Regions from separate parts of the Homo sapiens genome. Here regions 2, 3, 4, 5 and 6 are each linked to region 1. The links are contacts of gene promoters, found by promoter capture Hi-C in blood cells and fetal thymus (Javierre and others, 2016). All regions are on one chromosome and are shown on one strand. Each heading gives the region's core, a stretch centred on a gene start or on the middle of the fragment in contact. The rest is flanking DNA. Distances are from core to core; before and after follow the strand shown.

The links. Contacts are between HindIII fragments. The CHiCAGO score rates a contact against its expected background, and 5 or more counts as called.
Region 2: a fragment that was not itself captured here is called in contact with the fragment with the promoter of SGO1 in region 1 in 1 of 17 cell types (total CD4 T cells); the score reaches 6.5 in total CD4 T cells.
Region 3: a contact is called between a fragment that was not itself captured here and the fragment with the promoter of SGO1 in region 1, in 4 of 17 cell types (non-activated CD4 T cells, naive CD4 T cells, activated CD4 T cells and 1 more). The highest score is 13.9, in non-activated CD4 T cells.
Region 4: a contact is called between a fragment that was not itself captured here and the fragment with the promoter of SGO1 in region 1, in 2 of 17 cell types (fetal thymus and naive CD4 T cells). The highest score is 10.4, in fetal thymus.
Region 5: a fragment that was not itself captured here is called in contact with the fragment with the promoter of SGO1 in region 1 in 3 of 17 cell types (fetal thymus, non-activated CD4 T cells and total CD4 T cells); the score reaches 12.2 in fetal thymus.
Region 6: the fragment with the promoter of EOMES here is called in contact with the fragment with the promoter of SGO1 in region 1 in 1 of 17 cell types (naive CD4 T cells); the score reaches 5.7 in naive CD4 T cells.

What each region holds. Positions count from the first base shown.
Region 1 is chr3:20,184,423-20,188,090 of GRCh38, reverse strand. SGO1 (shugoshin 1) reads left to right here and starts at 1,885. Exons shown (of 8, transcript NM_001199251.3): 1 at 1,885-2,143. SGO1-AS1 (SGO1 antisense RNA 1) reads right to left here. Exons shown (of 4, transcript NR_132785.1): 4 at 1,976-2,116. RefSeq lists enhancers at 1,408-1,467, 1,488-2,167. The HindIII fragment of the contact is 754 bases long and covers 1,608-2,361 here.
Region 2 is chr3:14,645,794-14,649,446 of GRCh38, reverse strand. It overlaps LOC124909347 (a long non-coding RNA gene), which reads left to right. Exons shown (of 2, transcript XR_007095826.1): 2 at 1-3,653. Among named protein-coding and RNA genes, the nearest start is that of CCDC174, 4.1 kb to the left of the region's middle. The HindIII fragment of the contact is 254 bases long and covers 1,124-1,377 here.
Region 3 is chr3:25,664,422-25,668,519 of GRCh38, reverse strand. It overlaps TOP2B (DNA topoisomerase II beta), which reads left to right and starts at 3,613. Exons shown (of 36, transcript NM_001330700.2): 1 at 3,613-4,098. MIR4442 (microRNA 4442) reads left to right here and starts at 3,581; the gene lies at 3,581-3,647. RefSeq lists an enhancer at 3,313-3,876 and a silencer at 4,044-4,098. The HindIII fragment of the contact is 239 bases long and covers 2,729-2,967 here.
Region 4 is chr3:14,945,541-14,949,183 of GRCh38, reverse strand. NR2C2 (nuclear receptor subfamily 2 group C member 2) reads right to left here and starts at 1,601. Exons shown (of 14, transcript NM_001291694.2): 1 at 1,278-1,601. It overlaps FGD5-AS1 (FGD5 antisense RNA 1), which reads left to right and starts at 743. Exons shown (of 2, transcript NR_046251.1): 1 at 743-1,171; 2 at 3,030-3,643. RefSeq lists enhancers at 1-384, 739-938, 385-1,072, 1,761-2,450 and silencers at 539-598, 989-1,408, 1,429-1,498, 1,549-1,978. The HindIII fragment of the contact is 2,676 bases long and covers 699-3,374 here.
Region 5 is chr3:27,482,786-27,486,579 of GRCh38, reverse strand. SLC4A7 (solute carrier family 4 member 7) reads left to right here and starts at 2,196. Exons shown (of 26, transcript NM_001321103.2): 1 at 2,196-2,513. The coding sequence starts at 2,454. It also overlaps the pseudogene UBA52P4. RefSeq lists enhancers at 1,538-1,667, 2,146-2,922, 2,938-2,997, 3,028-3,237, 3,398-3,457 and silencers at 1,798-2,277, 2,308-2,667, 2,698-2,767. The HindIII fragment of the contact is 1,252 bases long and covers 625-1,876 here.
Region 6 is chr3:27,719,983-27,723,671 of GRCh38, reverse strand. EOMES (eomesodermin) reads left to right here and starts at 1,349. Exons shown (of 6, transcript NM_001278182.2): 1 at 1,349-2,258; 2 at 3,347-3,501. The coding sequence starts at 1,378. RefSeq lists a silencer at 1,714-1,923. The HindIII fragment of the contact is 2,734 bases long and covers 368-3,101 here.

The DNA.
Region 1 (3,668 bases), core at 636-3,135:
CAAGGGTGAGCCCTTCTGAGCACTTTGTACTTAGGTCCCTAACTACAAAATAAGTGGTTCATGGAGGCCATTTAGTGCGCATCCTGAACATTGTATGACATGGGGCAAGAAACAGTGACAGACACACACATTGCATGAATCACATCTGCTCACAAGATTGCTCCATTGTCTCATCAGACATCACTTACAAAACATAAGTTCAAATATAAACTCCTAAGCATTTCAAGACGGCAACAGCAGAGCATTAAACCAAATGTACAGCCCTTCTAAGCACCGGTTGCCTGCTCATGAAGCTGGCCCTATTCTCTGCTCTCATGTTCCACTTCATAATTTTCTGACCTCAAACAACAAAAAACCTCTCTGCCCATTCCTTCTTGATGCTTCTACACATATAAGCCACATTGCCCAGTGGCAGTAAACTGAGGGTTAATGGAGTTGGTCTGGTTAACTTGGAAAACGAGGGAGTTGTTGGCTGGAGAAGGGTGTTTCAGCCTCTTCCACTCAAGCCAGGATGGGTACCCAGACTAGAGCAAGCATGTGTTAGCTACCTTTAAAAAACAACAACACACCTTCATAAAGAATGCCTAGATTCAAAACATTTGTTTCGTTTTCATTTATTTGTTCCTTTATTGTCCCAGTGAATATTTACTACTTACTTCAAATTGCAACGAGATGCTGACAATTTAGCTATGAACAAAGCAGATGTAGTTCCTGCCCTTATTCAACTTCAAGAAACAGGCAATGAACGACAAGTCAGTGTCACAAGGAATACCAAGGGGAAAATGCAGGGCACTAAGAAAGTGTAAAGCAGACACTCAGGGGCTTTAGGGGTAGATAAGTCTTTCTGGAAGAATTCATCTGTACAGTGAAACTTCAGTATACATAGGAGTAAGTTCGGCCAAGGGAAAGAGTGTTCTTGACAGAACAGCATTGGCAAAAGTGGCAAGAATTTTAAGAAAATTAAAGAAAATGTACAAGTGATGGAACCAGGAATCATGGGGCTCTTTAAGGACAAAATATCTTAAAGGAGTTTGAAATTCACCTTAAATGCAATAGGGAGCCATTGTAAAGTTTCCTATTTGATACTTGTTTTGTAAAAATATTAATCTATGAAGAATATAGGGAGTGGAGTCTGCGGTCAGAGTGGGTACTAGTGCAATTTAGGGAATGAGATTAGGCTGGAAGCTGGATTGGGGGGAAAAAGATGGGCATGAGAGAAACTTGGAAAGCAGAGTTGAGAAGATCGTGTGACCGACTGGACGGGCAAAGGTTAAGAGAGGATAAATAATCATTAAGGACGATTTCTCAGGCTTCTAGTCGGTAACTGGATGGATGTTGGTGCCATTTCTCGAGAAGAGTTAAAGAGCCAGAGATAGCCGGCAAAGAGAAACATGGAGCTAGAATTTTCAGGTATCTGCAGTTTCCCTAATACCTTTTTAATCCAGAATTTGCTCCTTGTTTTGGTTTTAATTCCTCTAAAAGCTGCTTCCGTGTTGCAAGCTGGCTGACCGCTTTAACAGGCAACCAAAGAGATTCTTCTCACAAGAGGGAGGCTTTGAGCACAACCCGGGACATTTGAAGCTGTCAGACTGAAGAAACAGGAAGCTTTGAACTACCTATCACACTCGGCCTTAAAGGTTTCGGAGTAACTCCACCCGTAAAATCCCCACGACTCTGATTAGAAAGTCCCGGCGGGTCGCCGAGACCCGACCGCAGGCTCCGCCCCAGGGCCAGGTGGATGCCCGGATGTGGACTTGAGCGAATGTGCGTCACGTGACGTCGCCTGGCGGGGCGGGACTCTGCCTGCGACGGTGGTGTTGGGTGCATCCTGCGCCACGTGACCGCCTCCCAGCCAACCAATGGAGGAGCGAGGCGGAAAATTTCGAATGTGGCGGCGGTAGTTCCAGGCGACGGCGGACGGTGGTACGGTCCTGGAGGGCCCAGTGCGCGGGGCTAGCCGTGGCTGGAGAGCTTCGAAGAGCCTTGAAATGTGAGGAGGAGGAAGATAGCTGTTGCAGAAGTAGTGGCCAAGGTATCGTTCTGGACGCGCCTGCGGCAGGAGGGTCGCCGCGTCCACTTCCGCCAGCCCCACCTCCCCCCGGCCTTCCTGGAGTCCCTGAAAGAGGAAGAAGTAGGTTTTAAGGTGCGAAACAAGGGCGTAGTGATCCCTGTTTGACTTCCCTTCGGTTTTCAGTATCATTCTAAATTCGGTGGCCGAAAGCTCGGGCCGTGGAGTCCCACTCGCCGCGCTTTTCGCCGTTCAGCCACTCGATCTGCGCTTTCAGATGTTCCGGCTTCCATGGAGACCCTAATTTCCTACTTTGCAAAATTGTGTAGATTAAGTGATGTGCAAATAAAGCTTTTACAATAGCTAAAAGCCTGGCTCAACGTAAGGACACAAGAAAATTGACAGCAGTTCTTTGTGCAGCGTGATACCGTTGACGTCCTCCTTGTCCAGGCCATTCTCTTCCTCACTTACCCTGGAGAGGCCGGCACTGACTAGTATCCTACCTGGCTGTCTTCGCAGCAGGACTAATTGGAGAATTATGGACGGAGATCAAATATGCTAGGTTCTTTAAATCCAGAGCGCTTACACGAGTACTGTACAGATTGAGACCGTCATCTCGCGCTGTGGTCTGTCTTTGCTTTCATCCCTTCTGTCTACCACACCCCCTGCTAATAACCATCGCCTTATTTAGACAGGATATAAAACTTTTGATATGGCAAGTTTCTTTTGTGATTTTTAACTTGATTAAAAGTAATAACGAAAGCTTTTTAGGTAAGGCTTTGCCTTTAAAATACCTTAACTAAACTAGATCCGTTACTTAATCTGTATGACTCTCAAACATCTCCAATTCTAACTTAATTGTGTAAAACAACCCCTTTACCGTTCGTGCTTTTAAAAATAGCTACCCTATCTCTGCTAGGAACCTCCCAGTACATATTGTATATACCTTGGTAGAAAGAAAGTTCTTAAGTGGTATCTACAATACCTATATTTAAGATTCCAGACACTGCATAGAGGAAAATAAGGCCTGGAGGAAATACTCAAGATTAAGTGTAAGGTTTAGGAAAATATTTGACTATCGTAGAGGAGATGAAGATATCCTTTGTAGTGAAAATTCTGTGCATAGATTGTTATTGGAAACAAGTCTTTTTTTTTTGCAATTTTAAGATCTGCAAAGTGCAATCTAGCGTAAAAGATGTTTGTGAAAAGTGGTTTGACATGTTTAGTAGCATGCTAAAGCCTACCTGATTTGCAACGTTGAAAGATTAAGTATAGTTATGTATTTAATACTCAACGTTTAACTGTATGTACAACAATATTTAATGTCTGATTTGTTATGTTCATAATTTACTGGGAGTTAACAGCCCTAACTTTTAGCCACAGTTTGAGAATACTAGAGTGTTCCTCTGCCCAAGTTCCTGCTCTAGCTCTGTACTTGTTACAATAGCCTATTAAAATTGTATGTAGTGCTACATAGTTTAAACCTCTAAGGAGTACCTTGACTTTCTTGAGACTGTGTGCATATCATAAGTGATAATTGCGTTTAAAGAGTATGGAAAAATAGTTGAATGACCTAATCTGATGAATTAATCATTAGAGAAGAGCTGGAAAACAAAACCCAAATATATAATTGCCTCAGAACTAATGCTGTAAGCTTAAG
Region 2 (3,653 bases), core at 1-2,500, 5.5 Mb after region 1:
GTCCCTGAAGACCATGAGAATTTAGCTTCCTCTGCACGATGCCTGTCAGGGTCCTTGGTTGTCATCTCCATCTTAGCGATGCAGGTTTGCACCCTCACCCTTGTCAGAAATTCTCCCTAGAGTGGCATCCAGCTGATTGTAACCACCTCCCAAGCCACTTAAATGACCAGGAGCAAGCTAGTGAGTCCCCTTTATTCCCAGGCTCACTCATTTTGCAGGCTGCAAAAGCACAAAATAACTTAATCTTGCATTGACCAGAATGCTCCCCTGTCATACAAATGATTTTTCACATATCCCCCCATTTCCTCAAACTCTCTCCTCTTTGTTTATGTGTTCCAAGCATCTGGGTCTATCTGGAATTGCCTTCCTCTACCAAGTACAAAAGTTGAAGCCCAGCCCAGTATGTTCTTTACTCAGTCACCCTCTAAATACATGGACCTGGGTTTGTTCTGGAAGAAAGGGAGGGCAGGGACATCCTAGTCTGGTGAAAAGAGCACAGGATTTCCTCCGAGGCCGCTAGCACTCCGTTCCAGCTACGTTCCTTTAGTTAGTTTGGCAGCTCCCATCTCCCCTCTGAGCCTCGGTTCTTTTACCCAGTTGGGCACACAGGATGTTTGAGATAAAGAGTGTAAGAATGGTTTGCAAACTGAAAATGCTGTGCCTGCATCACTTGCAGGATAGTTCTGCTCAGTGCCAGTTTTCTCACAGCAGAAGGCGTGTGCGTACCAACAGTCTGTGTTATGACACTGCATATTTTGCAGTGTTTTGACCTCCGGTTTGTCCTTACCCCTGTTGAGTCCCAAGAGAGTGGGACTGGGTGGGAGATTGATTATCTTCTTCCTTCTTATATCTTACTAGATTTTAATTATCTATGAAGTCTTTTAGGTGCTTTAAATAAAGGGGGAGAGAGGAAATCTTCTGAAGCAGATGACAATTATTTCCCCCAAGCACAGCCACCAAGCCATGCTCTTATTTTGAATGATCTGCGTCATTTTCCAACATGAAGCCTCAGAAGGACATGATTACAGGCTGGACTCACCGACTGTAGCCTGTGCAGCTATTGTAATGTTTTAATCAGTGATTAAGTCAAGAGGTTTAATTTAGTACCGGGCTCCGTTAAGCTTGTGAAAATGGTTTTCTGCCTCCTCAAACTAAAAATGTGTCTCTCCCCCATGTGTCCAGCCCGAAGCATCTTAACCTTTGTTCTATCTTCAACACCGCTGGCTCTAACAAATTACTCAGCAGTGAATGAATTAGCTGAGTCCAATGTGTGAAAAAAGATTAGGCTGGACCTAGGAAAATTAGCTTCTAAGCACAGCACAGGATGAGGCATAAAGATACCTGGACTCGTGCCCTGCATGACAAAGAAGCTAAGCTTCATTAGCGTCAGTCATGACATCCGTCATTGGCATTATCTCATTGAATCCCTGCGACAACCTCAGGGGCAGATGCTATTATTATTCGCATTTTGTAGATGAAGAAAACTGAGACCCAGAGAAGGTAAATAACTTGTCCATGGTCACACAGGCAGTCTTGGTCCCAGGATTTGAGTTGAGGCAGCCTAGCTCTGGGATCCCCACACTGTCCTTCCTCCCTCGCTGGATCTGAGACTACGTTAGCTTTGCATTCATTCATTGATTAACTCTGTTGGGGAAAGGGGACATTTTAGGGAGCTACCCCAGAATAGTTCTGCAGGAGGGACCTGTCTTTAGGTCATTGCAAGCAGAGATGACTAAGGAGGTGAGTGCCAGGAGTCCTGACCATGCAAGCTAGAACTGGACAAGCATCATTTGGTATCACGGAGAGCCCAGCCGAGCTTGCAAATCTGGAGTAACAGGATGGCCTATGGGGCTTTTTCTGCAGCCTGGGGAATTGGTGCCTGAGGCCATGGCTAAAAAAAAAAATGAGAGTTGCTAAAAACTACAGCCTCAAACTCTTAATGGGGGCCCAAGTGCTGCCCCCCAGCTTCAACCCAATGGCTTACTATGAACAGGAGAAGATGCTTTATAGTGCTCAAATCCACCCGACCCCACTGGATTTAGAGAGGCAGCAGGGAAGTGGTAGAGGGAGCTGTCCACATTATGAGATGTTGGCCTCATAGAGAGGGACGGGAGGGACATTTCTCTAAACTCCTAAAGCCAAGTGAGGGGCTCCAAAGATGAGGAACAGAGTTCAAATCAGAGATCTGGCAATGTCATGGTGGGGAGTCTTGAAGGTGACCCAGCTGAACCCAAGAAGTAGGAAAAAGCAGAGAAAAGCCACAGCAAGAAGTAGGGAAAAGCAGAGAAATGCCACAGTAAGAAGTAGAGAAAGCAGAGAAACATCACAACTAGAAGCAGCCCAGGTCCCCGACCCTTCTTGTTGGCCCTGCGTTAGTTTCCTAGGGCCACCATAACAAAATGTCACAGACTAGATGGCTTGAAACAATAGAAATTTATTGTCTCACAGTTCCAGAGACTGGAAGCCCTAAATCAAGGCATCGCAAGGCCAGGTTCCCTCTGAAACCTGTAGGGGGAATCCTTCCTTTCCTCCTCCCAGCCCCTGATAGTGAGTGGCAGTCCTTGGCTTTCCTTGGCTTCTAGATGTGTCCCTCCAGCCCTGTCTTCACGTGGCCTTCTCCCTGTGCCTGTCTTCACATGGCCGTCTTCTTACAAGGACACCGGTTATATGAGGTTAGGGGCCCACTGTACTCCAATGTGACCTCATCTTAACTGATTGCATCTGTAACAACCCTATTTCCAAATAAGGCCACATTCTGAGGTACTGAGGGATAGGACTTCAACAGATCTTCTTTTAGGGCGGGGTGCAGTTCAACCCAGAACAGGCCCTCCGTGTCAGTCTTGAAAAAGGCCAGCAGAGACCCTCAGTACTAATGGGAGAGGAGACCTGAGACCCGTCCCAGAGAGCCGGGGTTTATAAACTGGCTGAGAAAGGGACTGCCAGAGGGGTCATGAAGGAATGACAGTGGTGGGGGGCCAGAGGGGCTGCCTGAAGTGGAGATGGGACAGAACAGAACTGCTCTGTGTGCACGCCCTGTCCAGGCCTAGCTGCTGGGGAGCTGGCTGCCCTTTCCTGCCAGTGAGGCCAGTCAGTGGGGTGCAGCAACCCTCACCCCCCACAGCAGGAAGGAGGAAACAAACTTTGGTTGGAACCACGGCGGGGCGCAGGCAGGAACTAAAGAGTGAAAAGGAGAGCACTCACATTTGGGGAGGCACACAGAGAAGACCTTCTTGTCTTGCAGGGCTCTGGGGAGCAGAGCTATCTGGGTGGAGTATGGCCAGATGTCAGCAGCACCCAGGCCAGCAGGCTCACATGGCTGAAGGAGTCAGGATAGGATGGAGGCCAGAGAACATGGAAGTGGGGCGCCCACATCTCCTGGTGCTTCACAGGCCACTTATAGGGACTTGGCGTTTACTCTGTGTGAAGTGGGAGCCGTGGAGGACACTGAGCAGAAGAGGTCTGTGGCCCAACTTAGGGCTTCATGGGATCCCTGTGGCTGCCAGATTCAGAAGAGACCATTTTAGCCAGAACAGTTCCCTATCTGCATACTTCCCATGGACACACAGCAAGGGAGGCGACCATGTACCTCTGTTTTAAGGACAGGTGTATGCCTAAGAGACCAGACAGAACATGCTTTATGTCCACTAGCTGTG
Region 3 (4,098 bases), core at 1,599-4,098, 5.5 Mb before region 1:
GGATCCACAAAATTAATGCAATGAGAAGGGAGAGGTGAAATTATAGACATTGAATTTTGAATTCAAATGTTAGCTTCTTTAAATGCTCCCGAGGTTAAAGATTTGTCCTCCTCCTCCCAACTGAATCTCAGTGTTGGAATGATACACAACATTTAAATGGAAACTATTGAAACTTTGGCAGATACCTAGAAGTATGGTTTTGAGTTGCTATTTTCTTGGATAATTTACTTACTGATTAAATTACCTACTGTGTATAAAGTGTGATGATAGGTGTGGCTCATCAGGTAAATTGTTTATTTTTTATGTATATATATATTTTTGAGATGGAGTCTTGCTCTGTTGCCCGGGTTGGAGTGCAGTGGTGCAGTCTTGGTGCACTGCAACCTCCGCCTTCCGGGTTCAAGCGATTCTCCTGCCTCAGCCTCCCGAGTAGCTGGGATTACAGGCACATGCCCAGCTAATTTTTGTATTTTTAGTAGAGATGCGGTTTTGCCATCTTGGCAAGGCTAGTCTTGAACTCCTGACCTCAGGTGATCTGCCTGCCTTGGTCTCCCAAAGCGAGGTAAATTGTTTATTAAACAGCAAATGAATAAATATAAAATTGCTTTTCAATTAAATGATTAGCTTGAAACTATAATTCAAGGGTGAACTTAAGGCAGAAAATGCGTCTTCATCACCTTTTTAAATTCCCAGGTCCTGAGTACCTAACACAGTAGGCATTTAATTTTTTTTTCATTGCTACAATAAGGAAATATAAGATCTAAAAATAGAAATTCTGAAGTAGTTAGGATAAGCTCCTATGGAAGCTACTCAGAAATCTTGATTAAATAAAGACCTTTATACAGTTTATAGAAATGACTAATTTCTAGTTTTTCCTTTTGGTCAGTGCTTGCTGTGGGGTAGAAATTAAGTCATTATATGTAATATATACATACAAAGTAGTATCTAAAACTAGACAAACCTGATATAGAAGCTTTTTTTTTTTTTTTTTTGAGATGGAGTCTCGCTCTGTCGCTAAGGCTAGAGTGCAGTGGTGCGATCTCGGCTCACTGCAACCTCTGCCTCCCAGGTTCAAGTGATTCTCCTATGTCTGCCTCCCCAGTAGCTGGAATTATAGGCACAGGTCACCACGCCTGGCTAATTTTTGTATTTTTAGTAGAGAAGGGGTTTCATGATGTTCGTCAGGCTGGTCTTGAACTCCTGACCTCAGGTGATCCACCCCTAATTGAAAATTACTTCACATTACCCCAGAAGAGAAAGCTATGCTCAAGTTGCGTACAATCAATTTTATCATAAAGATATGCTAAGTCTGCTGCACAGTTAAAAAGGACAATTCTTTAGAAGCTGAGATACTTTTAATCTAGATTCCGTCTTCCACTCATCACAAATCTCTGCTTTAAAAATGTTGATTTTCATGTATATTCAGCAATTCTTATTTGCAATTCTTCTGGGTAAGTCAGTATTTTCTTAAAACTAGTAACACTTATTAAAAGGCTTTTTCATACTGAGAAGACAAAAGGACTCAATGCCTCACATATGAGGCAAGTGAAAAGAACATTATTTTTATTAATCTATTTGAGTTTTGAATATATTGTTTTATTCATTTCAAAATCTGAACCTAGGCTGGGTGCGGTGGCTCATGCCTGTAATCCCAGCATTTTGGGAGGCCAAGATGGGCGGCTCACTTGAGGTCAGGAGTTCGAGACCAGGGTGGCCAACATGGTGAAAACCCCGTCTCTAGTAAAAGTAAAAAAAATTAGCCAGGCATGGTGGCCGGTGCCTGTAATCCCAGCTACCTGGGAGGCTGAGGCAGGAGAATTGCTTGAACCTGGGAGGTGGAGGGTGCAGTGAGCCGAGATCATGCCACTGTACTCCAGCCTGGGTGACAGAGCAAGACTCTGTCTCTAAAAACAACAACAAAAACGGAAGATAAAGAGCTTTGACAACTTAAGTTTAAAAAAGGAGACAGCTATGTATTTTATAGCTTAGCTTCTACCTAGTACATCTTCATAAAAAAAACTCATTGCCTTTAAAATTACCCCTTTTCAAACAAAATACATGTGTACTTGGAGATGCAAACTCACAGTAAGAACACAAGATCATTTTAACAAGCACTAAACTGAGGCTCAGGGAAGTTAAATAACAAGGCTATGGATACTTGGTCAGGTTCAGAAAAGTTTGCACCCCAAGTTCAAGGTAAAGAAAGGCTTCACTGTTCTGAAGTCCCTAGTATGGCAAAGTTACATGGCCATCAGAGAGCTAATTAAAAAAACTATGTTTAAATTATTTCCATGTTTCAGAGTTCTCCACCTCTAGACTCAGAATGCAGTTTAAAGATGTGACCTGAGACATTTTTGTTTTCCCTTGAGAGGAAATGCACAGTTGGAAGTTCACAAAAACACCTCTTCAAAAAACAGTAATACTGTTTTCATCTTTATAAAAAGCTTTCATCACAACTCTTTGGTGGCACTTCATGCCTTCAAGTACTCATTTTGGTGATCGTTGGCTCCCTTTTAGTCTGTCTCACAAGCCAGGTTATAAATGGTTTGAAATCAGGGGCCTTGTTTTTACTTTGAACCCATCGCAGAGCCTGGCACAGCGTGGCAGAGTGTGCGCCCAATAAATACTTGAGTGGAATTACACTGAAAAACAGGAAGAAGTAAAGCCATCTTCCATCTGCCAAAGACTGTGATGTTGCTGTATTGGTAATTTTCATTCTTAGAAAGCTTTAATGTGAATGAAATTATTCCTTACTGTGCATTTGAAAATTCCACTGAAAACAGTTTTAAAAATTAAGCATGCCCTCTTAGAGGCAGGGGGCACAGTTCTGGACAGATGAGAAAAGTGACAGTGACATCTCTGCATTGTTCAGAGAAGAAAGGTCAACAAAGAGTAGAAATAGAACACTCAACCCACCCTGCATTCTTTCCCTAGAACATTCTCTGTGTGTCCCTTATCATTTAAGCTTTTCATATGTAGTTTTCTTGAAACTGACCATATGCTCTTTTGGGGTGAGGGGAGGAGACGGAAGAAGGAGATGGAGAAGGTCTGAGATGATTTTTTTCGACAGCAGCGTCCACTTAGGCCCTTGGGGAGGCCGGGTCACGGGGCCTCCTTGCACCAGTGGTCTACAACGTCTTGCCTGCGGTTTACAACCGCTCTTTTAAAATAATTTCCCTTTGGGACGGCCCCCGGCTTCTTCCTGCCACCCCCATCCCCACCCCGCCCCCATCCTCATCCTTAGAGGCCCCAGGCAAACGCTTCGGATTCCCGGTTAGGTCTCAGAGTAAACAGCACGCTTGGAGGATTACAATCGACCCGAGGCCAATTCGACCCTTTCCCTTTGCCGCCCTCAATTGACCCTTGAAGCAGCCCCTGCTCTCCCTTCAAATGGAAAACCCACAGACACACACACAAACAAAAACCCCAAGTCTTCCTTTCGGTTGCTACCCGCAATGACGTTTCCCCCCTCGGGTCCCGCCCCTCCAGGGGGCTTGGAATTTTGGGATTGGCCGAGAGGCTGTGGCGACAAGGCCCGGATTGGACAGCATGGCGCTGACTGACAGCGGGGGCGGCCGCCGCGCCCTCCCTCTCTCCCCGGTGTGCAAATGTGTGTGTGCGGTGTTATGCCGGACAAGAGGGAGGTGACCGTGGCGGCGGCGGCGGCGGCTCTGTTTATTGTCCCTCTCGGTGTGTGTGTGTGAGGAAATCGGGGCTGCAGCGAGGCTAAGGCTGCCTTTGAAGCAGCGGCGGCGACCGGGACGACTACTCTGGCGACTCGAGTGGCTGGCCTTCGCGGAGTGTGAGAAGGACAAGGCACCTCTGCGTCCTCGCCACGTCCGAGCGCCTCGGGCTCCCCGGCCGCCCTCGCGGCTCGCACGCCCGGGCTTCAGCCCGGCCTGCAGCGGCGCCCGCGGGCGGGCGAGAAGGCAACGCCGCCGCTCGGCCGCCGCCGGTCGCTCCCTGCTTTCTCCTCAGCCGCCGCGCTAGGCCCGGGCGACGCGGACGCCGCGCCTCGAGTTTGAGGGCAGCCGGCGGCGCGGCCTCCTCAGCGGGCTCGGCTGGACGTCCGCTCCGGATCTTCGCGATGGGGCGCGG
Region 4 (3,643 bases), core at 787-3,286, 5.2 Mb after region 1:
CAGCCCCCAACTCTAGTGAGGGCAGGGGTCTTGTACAGCTGGTTCTCCAGATGTGTCCCCAGTGCCTAAAAAACTAAGTCAACATGTATTCAGCGAACGAATGAGAAGAGAATCACTCCCGAATTGTGCTCTCTCAAACCCCAAATACCCTTAACGCTTGCCTCTCCTGGTGGCTGTAATCCCATTTTTAACAATAACACCATTTTCAAGTGACTCTGAAGCTCGCAAAGTAGCGTTGCCTCCATTTTCTGAGTAGAGCCCCACAAACAATGCTCAGAAGGGAGGTCCGGCCTGGCAAGAATGCGCATGCCCCCCATTTACAGTCGATAAAATTGAGCCTCATTAGGGGATTCGCCAAGGCCGCTGCGAAATAACGAGCAGGAGCCCTGAAAAGTGTCCTGGTTCCGAAAACCTCTTCCCACGAGAGCGCATCGTGGACTCGAAATGCTTCATCACCTTTATTACTATTGTTCCTCAGTACTCATTCGAGACGCGTTCCAGGCGGAGGGAAGCAGCCCACCTGCTGACCCAAGACCAGGCGCCGGCCTCTCCACCCGGCCGCGCCCCTCGCGCCCCGCCCCCGGCCCCGCCCCCGCCGACCCGGCCCCACTCTTCGCCCCGGCCTCTACTCCCGCCCCGCCAGGGCTCCCGCGCCCCATAAGGACCACCCTCTTCCGCCTCAGCCAATCAGCAAAGCTTAGGGGGGCGGTGCCACAGGCCCCGGCCCTCCTATCTGGGCGCCAATTAGCCAGCCCATCCGTCGCTCACGAGGTCGCGCCTCGCACCCGCCTTCCTCCTTTTCTTTTACCCTCCCCTTCAGAAAAAACGGCGGTTGGGCTGCGACGGCCGCCAAAGGCGGACTAGAAGCGGAGGGGTGAAAATCCCGGCAGAGAAGGAAGAAGGGACTGCAGGCGGGAGGAGGAGGAGGATAAGGAGGAAGGGAGCCCGCCCAGCCGGAGCCATCTCCGTCGAGAACAAAATGGCGGCGCTGGCGGAGGGCCAACTATAAGGCGGGGCCGCGGCCATTCCCCCTCCACCCCCACCCTTGCGCCGGCCGGGCCGGTCAGGGGGAACCCGCTCGCTTCGCCCGGCCGCGGGCGGGGAGGGGAGGGGAGCGGCCCGGCCCACTATGCAAAGCGCCGGGCGCCGCCGCCGCCACCCCGTGGCAAAGGTAAAAGGGTCGGGTTCAGCCGCCGCCGCGGCGCCTCCATGTCCGCGCGCCAGGCCCGCCCCCTCCGCCGCCGGCCCGAGCCCGCCCGACCCTCTTTCAATTTTACCTCAGGATTTGGCGCCAAAGCGGCCTCGAAGCGGGTCCCGTGTCTGCGGCGGGCGGCCCCCGGCGCGGAGGGCAGGGCGCGGGGAGCCCGGGCTCCCGGTGTCGGCGGATGGCGGGAGCCCGGGGGCCGCGGGCTCGCGGGGCAGCGGGCGAGAGACGAGACGCCGAGGTGGGAGCGGGGTGGCGGGGACGGGCCCGGGGGCGCCGCCGGGGTCGCGGAGAAGGGGGGGTTTGTTATTGTTTTTGTCAGTGAAAGGTCAGAGTTCGTGACCCCGGTGCCGCCGCCGCCGCCGCCCGCGCGCTGGTAGGAGGAGGGCGAATGTTCTTCTTCCTCTTCCCAGCGCCAGCCTCGCCGCCGCGGCGGGGGGCGGGCGAGAACGCGATTGGCTGAGGCGCGCGCGCGCACCGGAACGCCGCAGCCGGCGCTCGGTCCATCCGGCCCGTGGGCTGTGGGGCCCCGGGCGGCGGCGGCTACGTAGCTGCCGCCGGCCTTGGCCGCGGCCGGGCGGGCGGATATGTGGCTTAAATGGCGCAGGCGTCGGGGCCTAGAGGCTGAAGGGCTGGTCGTCCTAAAAACTCGTGGACGTCGCGCACGGTTACCCGGACGCAGGCCCGCCCCTCTGGGGAACCGCGAGCTCCTCGCAGCTGGGTGGGGACCGTCCTCGCAGTGGCGGCCTCCACCCTGCCTTCTCGCTTAGCCAAGGCTTCTGGAAGGCTCGCAAAGTGTCTGTTGTTGGAAGAAGCCGGGCCCTGACTGGCGCGACGGATTCTCCCAGCCGCTCAGCAGAGCGTCTGTAGGTCGGAAGTGGGGGTTGTATTGGGTGGGTATTGAGCTCTTCGGCCCTTCCTCGGTACTGATAGTTTTTAATTTAGGTTTTAAAGGTCTAAAGATGCGCCCGTTCTGGCCATCTCAGGTGAAATGTTGAAACGCCCCAGAACCTATAATTTTTGGTTTCTTAGTAAACATACGATCCAGATCTTGTGTAATTCCATGCCCCTCCTCCTCGAAATTTGGAAGTAGTACATGGTAATAGGGATGTGTAAAGCAGCTTTTAGCAGCATTGCTTAAATTTATTTGAAGAAATTGGCCTGTCTTGCTCTTAAACTCTTGGGCTGTAGGTTTTCCTTACATATTTCTCTGTTTTATGTCGTGGTTTTGACTTGCCTGGGAAGGTGCAGGCGCTTATTTATCCTAAATGCCCTGAAGTGTTTAGGCTACAGGCTGTAGATCTTATACTGATTTTTTTTCTTCAGTTTTCTTGCTTATTAAGAATAAATATTGACTCCAGAATGGATGGGTTAACTTTTTTTCCCACACAGTATCCATTTGGGTTTTTATCAGGATGACTCCAACATTTAGTATTTTTTTTTCCATAATCTTATAATATTTCTATTTGGTAAAAAATGTTTTAAACACAGCTATTTCCCCTTCCTCCTTTTTCTGACGTTGCAAAATTGGGAAAAGAGCTAGGTTCGTTTTGTCATGGTAAAGCACAGCTCTTGAAATTGGAAGAGGCCTTAAGGGAATGTGGTCAAATTTTTTTCTTGCAGAAAGATTTTCCGATTTTAGGGGTGAAGTGGGTGAGAACTAGAAAGGTCAAGTGATGTACCTGAGAGGCAAAAGCAATTGCGTTTTTGCATTTTTGAAATTTGCTGTTTGATATTGGAATACATTCTTAAATAAATGTGGATCATTTTAATGCACATTTCTCACTTTATTTTTTTGCTAATGACTTATTGCTGTTTATTTTAGAATATGCTTTTTGTCTAATGATGTTAGATAAAAAGCAAATTTGGAGCAGTTTTCTTATTCGAGTTCAAAATGGTTCATAAAGCAGCGAAGACAACTCAAAACATCAGTAACACATTTGGCCCAGGAACTGCTAACAAACATACAGTGCAGTGGTGGCTTAAGAAGTTTTGCAAGGAAGAGAGCCTTGAAGATGAGGAACGTGATATGGGCCATGGGAAGTTGACAACGACCAATTGAGAGCAATCATTGAACTACATGAAAAATTACAGAAGAACTCAGCGTTGACTATTCTACGGTCATTAGGGTCGTTCAGCATTCGAAGCAAATTGGAAAGGTGAAAAAGCTTGATAAGTGGGTGCCTCATGAGCTGAGCGGAAATCAAAACTATCGTTTTGAAGTGTAGTCTTCTTTTATGCTACGCAACAACAAACCATTTCTCAATCGGATTGTGACATGTAATGAAAAGTGAATTTTATACAACAACCAGCTCAGTGGTTGGACCAAGAGGCAGCTCCAAAGCAGTTCCCAAAGCCAAACTTGCACCAAAAAAAAGGTCATGGTCACTGTTCGGTGGTCTGCTGCCCATCTGATCCACTACAGTTTTCTGAATCCTG
Region 5 (3,794 bases), core at 1-2,500, 7.3 Mb before region 1:
TGCAGCAGTTGACAGCACGGGGGTGCAGGCAAGCATAGCACTTGCGGCAGATCATCTTGTCACAGTTGTATTTCTGGGAGAGCTGGCAGAGGGAAGGCTCAATAATGCCACCTTACAGGCGCAGCACCAGGTGCAGGGTGGACTCTTTCCAGATGTTGCAGTCTGAGAGAGTTCGGCCATCCTCCAGCTGTTTGCCAGCAAGTATCAGATGCTGCTGGTCAGGTGGGATACCTCCTTGTCTTGAATTTTGGCTTTGACATTCTCAATGGTGTCACTTGGCTTGACGTCAAGAGTGATGGTCTTGCCCGTGAGGGTCTTCACAAAGATCTGCGTCTCTGCGTCTGCAGCTCAGTTGCCTTGCCGAAGAAAAAGATGACGGCAGATATTTTGCAGTATTGAGAGGATTAGAAATGAAATATGTTTGCCAAATGTCACAGTCTCTAATTGTAGGCCTCTTTACATAGTAGCTATTAATAGAGGCACATCTGCTCTTGTACAAGTAAGTGAACAATGTGTGCTGGACTGGAAGTAACTCTCTGGGAAATTTAGGACAAAAGGGGACTAGGGCCCAAAGAAGGAATGAGTCATCCAGCATACCTAGCTACCTATTGCTGACAAAAAGCTTTACTAATACCCAGTTGGAGATGAATAGGATGTGAGCTCTGGATCCGCTGATGTATTTATATATCCTTCCATTGCATGGCTTCAGTTCTTCCCAACTAAACCTCTCCTTATCTTTTTTTATTTTATTTTTTATTTTTTTGAGACAGGGTCTAGCTCTGTCACCCAGGCTGGAGTGCAGTGGCGTGATCTCAGCTCACTGCAACCTCTGCCTCCTGGGTTCAAGCGATTCTCCTGCCTCAGCCTCCTGAGTAGCTGGGATTACAGGTGCCTGCCACCATGCCTGGCTAATTTTTGTATTTTTAGTAGACACGGGGTTTCGTCATGTTGGTCAGGCTGGTCTCGAACTCCTGATCTCAGGTGATCCGCCCGCCTCGGCCTCCCAAACTGCTGTAATTACAGGCGTAAGCCACCGCGCCCGGCCAAATTTCTCATCTTTATGAAACACTCAAGAGAAACCTGTTAACAATAATGAAAATTATCAGCATGCTATGTGCCAGGCACTTTTATGAATATAAATCCCCTTAATCCTTCAATGAGCCTGCATGGCAGGTATTACAATCATCCCGTTACAGAAGGGATATTTGAGAGACGGCCTACAGGGTGGACTCAATAATGTGGCAGCTGGCCGGGTGTGGTGGCTCATGCCTGTAATCCCAGCACTTTGGGAGGCTGAGGCTGGTGGATCACCTTAGCTCAGGAGTTCGAGACCAGCCTAACCAACATGGTGAAACCCCGTCTCTACTAAAAATACAAAAAGTTGCCGGGCGTGGTGGCGCGCGTCTGTAGTCCCAGCTACTCAGGAGGCTGAGGCAGGAGAATAGCTTGAACCCAGGCAGCGGAGGTTGCAGTGAGCCGAGATCATGCCATTGCACTCCAACCTGGGCTGGTGCAAGACTCTGTCTCAAAAAAAAAAAAAAAAAAAAAAAAAGTGGCAGCTGTCGTGGTGCTCAGTGGGCGAGCAAGCACAGGAGGACACCTGGTCAAGTGTACCCCATCTTTCACGGTCCCTGAGTTGGGGTTCGTGCCTACTGGATTGACAGAAAAGAAACTTCCAGGAGTCGTGAAGACTCGTTAGTTGCTTCGGAGGGTTATCCTGGGCGTCCTTGACAGAGGTGGCGTCCTCCTTCCCTGCAGCCTCTAAAGAATGTAGTTAGGAGCCAAGGGAGGTGGTGACCCCCCACCCCATTGAGAACGTCAGGGGAGCTTCCGACTTGAAAAACTAGTTAGACGCTCAGCTTCGGTCAATTAAGCTTATACAAAGAGGGGCGGTGCGTCCTGAGGAGGTGGCACGGGGGAGGCGAGCGGAAGTCCGCCAGCCGCCGATTGGCTGGGACAAATGTCCGTCCCGCCTCCCTCCCGCCCCATCTCCCGGTGGCCTAGCGGCGCGGCCCGCGGGCGCGCTGAGGAGGCTGGCGGTGCCAGACTGGCAGGGGGCGTGACCCGAGGAGGCGGGGCGGGGGGGCGTGTCTTGCCTGGCCCCGGCGCCGGGCTCGTCACGGTTTGCGGCTCCGCCCCCGAACCCCTCCTCCTACGCGGCTCTCCTCCTTCCCGCTCGGTCCGCCGGTTCGCTCAGTTCTAGCTTCAGGTTCCACGCCGCGGCCTCGCTCTCCTACTAAAGCCAGCCCAGCAGTCGCAGCGCGCACACGCACGCCCCGCGTCTCCCGCGCCCGGCGCCCGGCTCTCCCCACGCGCGCACACCTCGCGCACGGACGCACCCACGTTTGTCCTCGCGCGCCGGGGGCTCGGCGGCGGCGGCAGGGGCAGCGGCAGAAGCAGGCAGACCGCGCGGGGCAGTACCGTAGCGGCCGTCACGGGCTGGCCGGCCGGCCATGGAGGCTGATGGGGCCGGCGAGCAGATGAGACCGCTACTCACCCGGGTAACGAGCAGGGTGAGGGCGCCGCGGCGGTGGGGCTCCTCCGCAGGGGGAGGGCGCGGGGCGAGGCAGACAAAGGCGGGGGGCGCGGCGGGCGTCGCGGCTCGGCCACCTCGTCCCAGGCCCGTCGCCCCTCCACCTCCCGGCGGCCGGCGCGCCTCGCCATCCCCTTTGTGTGGCGGCCTGGGGCGCGGGTGGGAGGGGGCCAGCGGCTGCGCTCGGGAGGCCCGAGTCGGGGCGGCCGGCGGCGCGCCGCGGGCATCCTCTGCGCGGCTCAGGCGGGACCCCGACATCCCCGCAGAGGCCGCCTGTGACCCCGACCATCCATCCCTTCCCTCAGCGCTCGCCTCCCCTGTTTCTTAGCGCGCTCCCCAGGCGGGGTCCCGGTTCCGGTTGCCTTGGCGCAGGAGTTTCAGATTAGCCCTCGAAAACCTATCTTTCTTCTCCTTCTAAGGAGGACGGCGGCTCCACCTGTCTCTAGCCCCAGGCAGTGGTGAAGAGCTGGTTGAATCTTTCCCCCTCTTTCCGAGTGTCCCCTCCCGCTCCGCGGTGCGCTTTGTTCGGTGAGTTCTCCGGCCGCGTGGACTGGCCGCGCTCCTTCCCGGCCAAGGCTCTTTCGCTGTTGCCTGCCGGGTCCGCCTTCTCCACTGGCTGGGACCCGGGGAGTATCCTCCTGCCGCAGGCCAAGTAGAAGGAGGAGGGTGTCCTGAGCTGTCTGGTGCTCCTTCTCTAACTCAGCTAGCAAGATCGCGTTTCCTACTGAGACTGGCTTTGATTTCAGGGTTAGAAGAGAATGGGGATGGACTTAAGGCCGGTGTTCCCATTTGTGATGATGGGTGAACGGCCCATGCTCAAGAAGCGGACTTCCTGCTTTCTTTAGAGCACATGCGTCCCCGCAGTTGTCTCTTTCTCCTTTCCAAGTTCGTGACTCAAAGGAGATGGAAGTATTCTAAATTTTCCTACTTCTAATTTTTACTATGCAACCAGCAAAGGCGGGAAGGTTGCAGGGAAAATTGTCCGGTCTTTCACAACTAAGAGGAAAATTACTTCTCCTATGTTTTTATTCAAGAGTTGTCTTTAAAACTGCCTGCCGGCTTTCCCTTTTAACTTTTAGGATTATAGTTAAGGTTATGGAAAGTAGTCATTCATTAGTTCAGTACGTTCATATAAGTTCTCTAACATAGAAGAAAACTCAGTCACCAGACAGTGAAGTCATTTAGCAGTGGTTATTGGAAGATAATTCACAGTGATGGTAATGGAATACTGGAAACTCATCCTAAATAATCTGTAATTATT
Region 6 (3,689 bases), core at 100-2,599, 7.5 Mb before region 1:
AACTGATTATTTCACTAATTATTCTACCTTCTGTATTTGCCGCAGAGCAGAGGCGCAGGGAATCCTAACTGTGGGGCTGTTAGGGAAGCTTTGTTTCTTGGTGTCAGGCCTAACTGAAGATGGTGGTGAAGGGACGGAATCCGGGATCAGGAAAACTGAGCAGAAAGGATTTTAAATTGTGGGGAATAAAAGTGACTGTCTCCCCGAAAGCAGTTGTGTTGGCGTGAGTATGAAGTTGGTGTTAGCTCGCTTAGTTTCACTCTTGTCCTGTCCCCAGTACCCTGTCCAAGCTTCTGATTTAGAAGCTGAGAGCTTAGGTCCTCCAGGATGGCAATGTGCTCTGGCCGTCCCCGGAATCCCAAAAGCTTAGCGCGAGTTTCCTCTCTACAAACCTTTCCCACTGGGTAAAAGGATGGGAACAAACAAAAAGTGGTTCTGTGCGTTGAAGGCCAGGGAGTTTGCCTTCGACAAGAGGAAGGTGTGCTTTGAAGTTACAGCTTCCGACGAGGAAAGAGACTTCCTTGGGCCTGTCTCCAACTTGCCCCAGTTTCCCCAGCCTCCGGGACGGGCGCTTCCCTGCAAGCTATCAGCTTGAAGAGTCTTTCTCTCTCTGGCCTCTAAAATCTGCTCCAGCCATCTCATTCCTCCAGCGGAGGGCTGAGATGACTAATGCGCCAAGGGTGGACACCGCTATGGAGACCCCAAACTTTGTCCCCCTAAATTCCGGCGAAATTACAGACACCAGGATTGATTATCACAGCGGGACGCAGTCTCAAAAAAAAAAAAAAAAAAAAAAAAAAAAAAAGGAAAAGAAAGTCACAGGCGACTTGATCCAATTAGTAAATGCCTAATTGAATTAGTGTCACCTCCACCAGCCAATAGGAGGGTCTCCGGGCTGTGAGGCCGGGAAGCCCCTCCCTGGCCGCAAATATATAAAGCAGCTAGTGACAGCCCATAAGTTTCCAAGTGGTCAACTTGACCGATGCTTTGGCAATTGAAAAAGGGCAGAAAGGCGCGGGCTAGTGGGTGGATGGGGACAAAGATCTAAGTCACCTTCTTCCAGCGTGTGAGCCTGGGAGGAGGGTGGGGGTCCTGAGGAGCAAGAGGTACGAGGAAGGAAAAGGAGAGGGCTTCTGGGTTAGTTTCCACCTCCTGCTTTCCAACTCACGGCGCTTTCCTTCCGGAAAGGACGCTGGATTCAGGGCGCGCCAGTACGCGCAGTAGCGGCCCGCGAGTCGGCAGGTGGGTAGCCCCGGCGCGGGAGGAAGGGGAAGTTACCTTCCCCTCGGAAGAGGGCGCTGGCTCCCCCATCCTGCCTTTATAATAAGGCCACCGGAGGAGAGGAAGCAGCCAGCTGCCGTCTGCGCTTTGCAAAGCATGCAGTTAGGGGAGCAGCTCTTGGTGAGCTCAGTGAACCTGCCTGGCGCGCACTTCTACCCGCTGGAGAGTGCGCGAGGCGGCAGCGGCGGGAGCGCTGGCCACCTCCCCAGCGCGGCCCCCTCTCCTCAGAAGTTGGACTTAGACAAAGCGTCCAAGAAGTTTTCCGGCAGTCTCTCCTGCGAGGCGGTGAGCGGGGAGCCCGCAGCCGCCAGCGCAGGGGCCCCCGCGGCCATGCTTAGTGACACCGACGCCGGGGACGCATTTGCCAGCGCTGCGGCAGTGGCCAAGCCGGGGCCCCCGGACGGCCGCAAGGGCTCCCCCTGCGGGGAGGAGGAGCTGCCCTCCGCCGCTGCAGCCGCCGCCGCCGCCGCCGCCGCGGCTGCGGCCACTGCGCGCTACTCCATGGACAGCCTGAGCTCCGAGCGGTACTACCTCCAGTCCCCCGGTCCTCAGGGGTCGGAGCTGGCTGCGCCCTGCTCACTCTTCCCGTACCAGGCGGCGGCTGGGGCGCCCCACGGACCTGTGTACCCGGCTCCTAACGGGGCGCGCTACCCCTACGGCTCCATGCTGCCCCCCGGCGGCTTCCCCGCGGCTGTGTGCCCACCCGGGAGGGCGCAGTTCGGCCCAGGAGCCGGTGCGGGCAGTGGCGCGGGCGGTAGCAGCGGCGGGGGCGGCGGCCCGGGCACCTATCAGTACAGCCAGGGGGCTCCGCTCTACGGGCCGTACCCTGGAGCCGCAGCGGCGGGATCTTGCGGAGGACTGGGGGGCCTGGGGGTTCCAGGTTCTGGCTTCCGTGCCCACGTCTACCTGTGCAACCGGCCTCTGTGGCTCAAATTCCACCGCCACCAAACTGAGATGATCATTACGAAACAGGGCAGGTGAGCGCAGCGTGGAGGGGCCCCTGGGTTCGGGGATAAAGGGTGACGTGTGGTCCTGGGGAAGGTCCGGGATGAGGGAGCTGAACCCAGTTGTTCCGCGCGGTGCTTAGAGTGTTTCACCGCGCGCAATAAATCTCCGTAGACACCGCATCTCCAATGCGGTGTCCCTCTGTGTCAGTGCCCCGGCGGCTCTTGCAGGGTGCCAATGTTACGGCTGTACACCGCTTTTCCCTCCCATCATCCTCACCTGAACAGACCTGGAGGAGGCGGAAATGGAAATTAGGGCATGTCCACAAGCTGGATTCGTTAGATCCTCCTGCTCGGCGGTATGCTTGTGCATGCCTGCATGCCGGCAAGGAGCCACGGATAGGGAAGGCTCAAGAGCTGGCCACCTGAGCGCAGTAGATGGGCTCCCGCAGTTTTAGGCGCCAGGGTCTCCACGGGGCGTCTCCGGGAGGTGGGCATGAAGGCTAGAGCGCCGGCCTCGGAAGCTCGGTCGGAGTAGGTGGTTAGATCTGCCCTGGAGCCAGACCTGGCTCGGGTTCGGTGCGCGAGAAAGTTCTGATATACATCCAACTGCTAACACTGGCTACTTCTGGGGAAAGGGAGGGGTGGGTGCTGAGAGAGGGGCACTCAAAGGGGACTTTTAGCCTAAAGTTTTAATATATATTTTTAACAAGAATAACCTAATATTGTTCTCTGGTACTTTTCAAAATGGTGCATTTAAAAATTAGTAGTTTTTAACATTCTAGGAGAAAAATTTTAAGAGCGTCTGAAAGGGCCGAGAATATGAGCCTTCGGAAGCACGCGCGAATTTGGAATATACCGATGTTGGGGCAAGCTTTTTTTTTTTTTTTTTTTTTTTTTTTTTTTTTTTTTTTTGAAAAGACGGAAAGGTTCCAAGAGTTGCCAACTCAAAAATATTTTACATAGTTTCAGACCACTTGATCTACCAGCATTCTGTTCACTGCAAACTTTTAAATGTGTTCCGACCCTATCCCAGGTGTCTGGGGAACCCGCTGGGGCCTGGGCCTGTTCTAGGACATCCCAATTAAAATCGATTTTTCTGATTCTATTCCCTTGCACAGGCGCATGTTTCCTTTCTTGAGCTTCAACATAAACGGACTCAATCCCACTGCCCACTACAATGTGTTCGTAGAGGTGGTGCTGGCGGACCCCAACCACTGGCGCTTCCAGGGGGGCAAATGGGTGACCTGTGGCAAAGCCGACAATAACATGCAGGGTGAGCAGAGAAGAGGCTCGGGCCGGGGAGGAACGGGCGGGAAGAAATCGTAACCCTCGACTCACACAACTCACATTTAAATGTAGCACTTTTTTTTTCCCCTTCCATTCTGAGGCCTAGAGGTGTTAGTATGAGTGTCTTTGAGTTGCTTGTTTGACGGAGAGGAGAGTTTGCTAAGTCAGATTTCT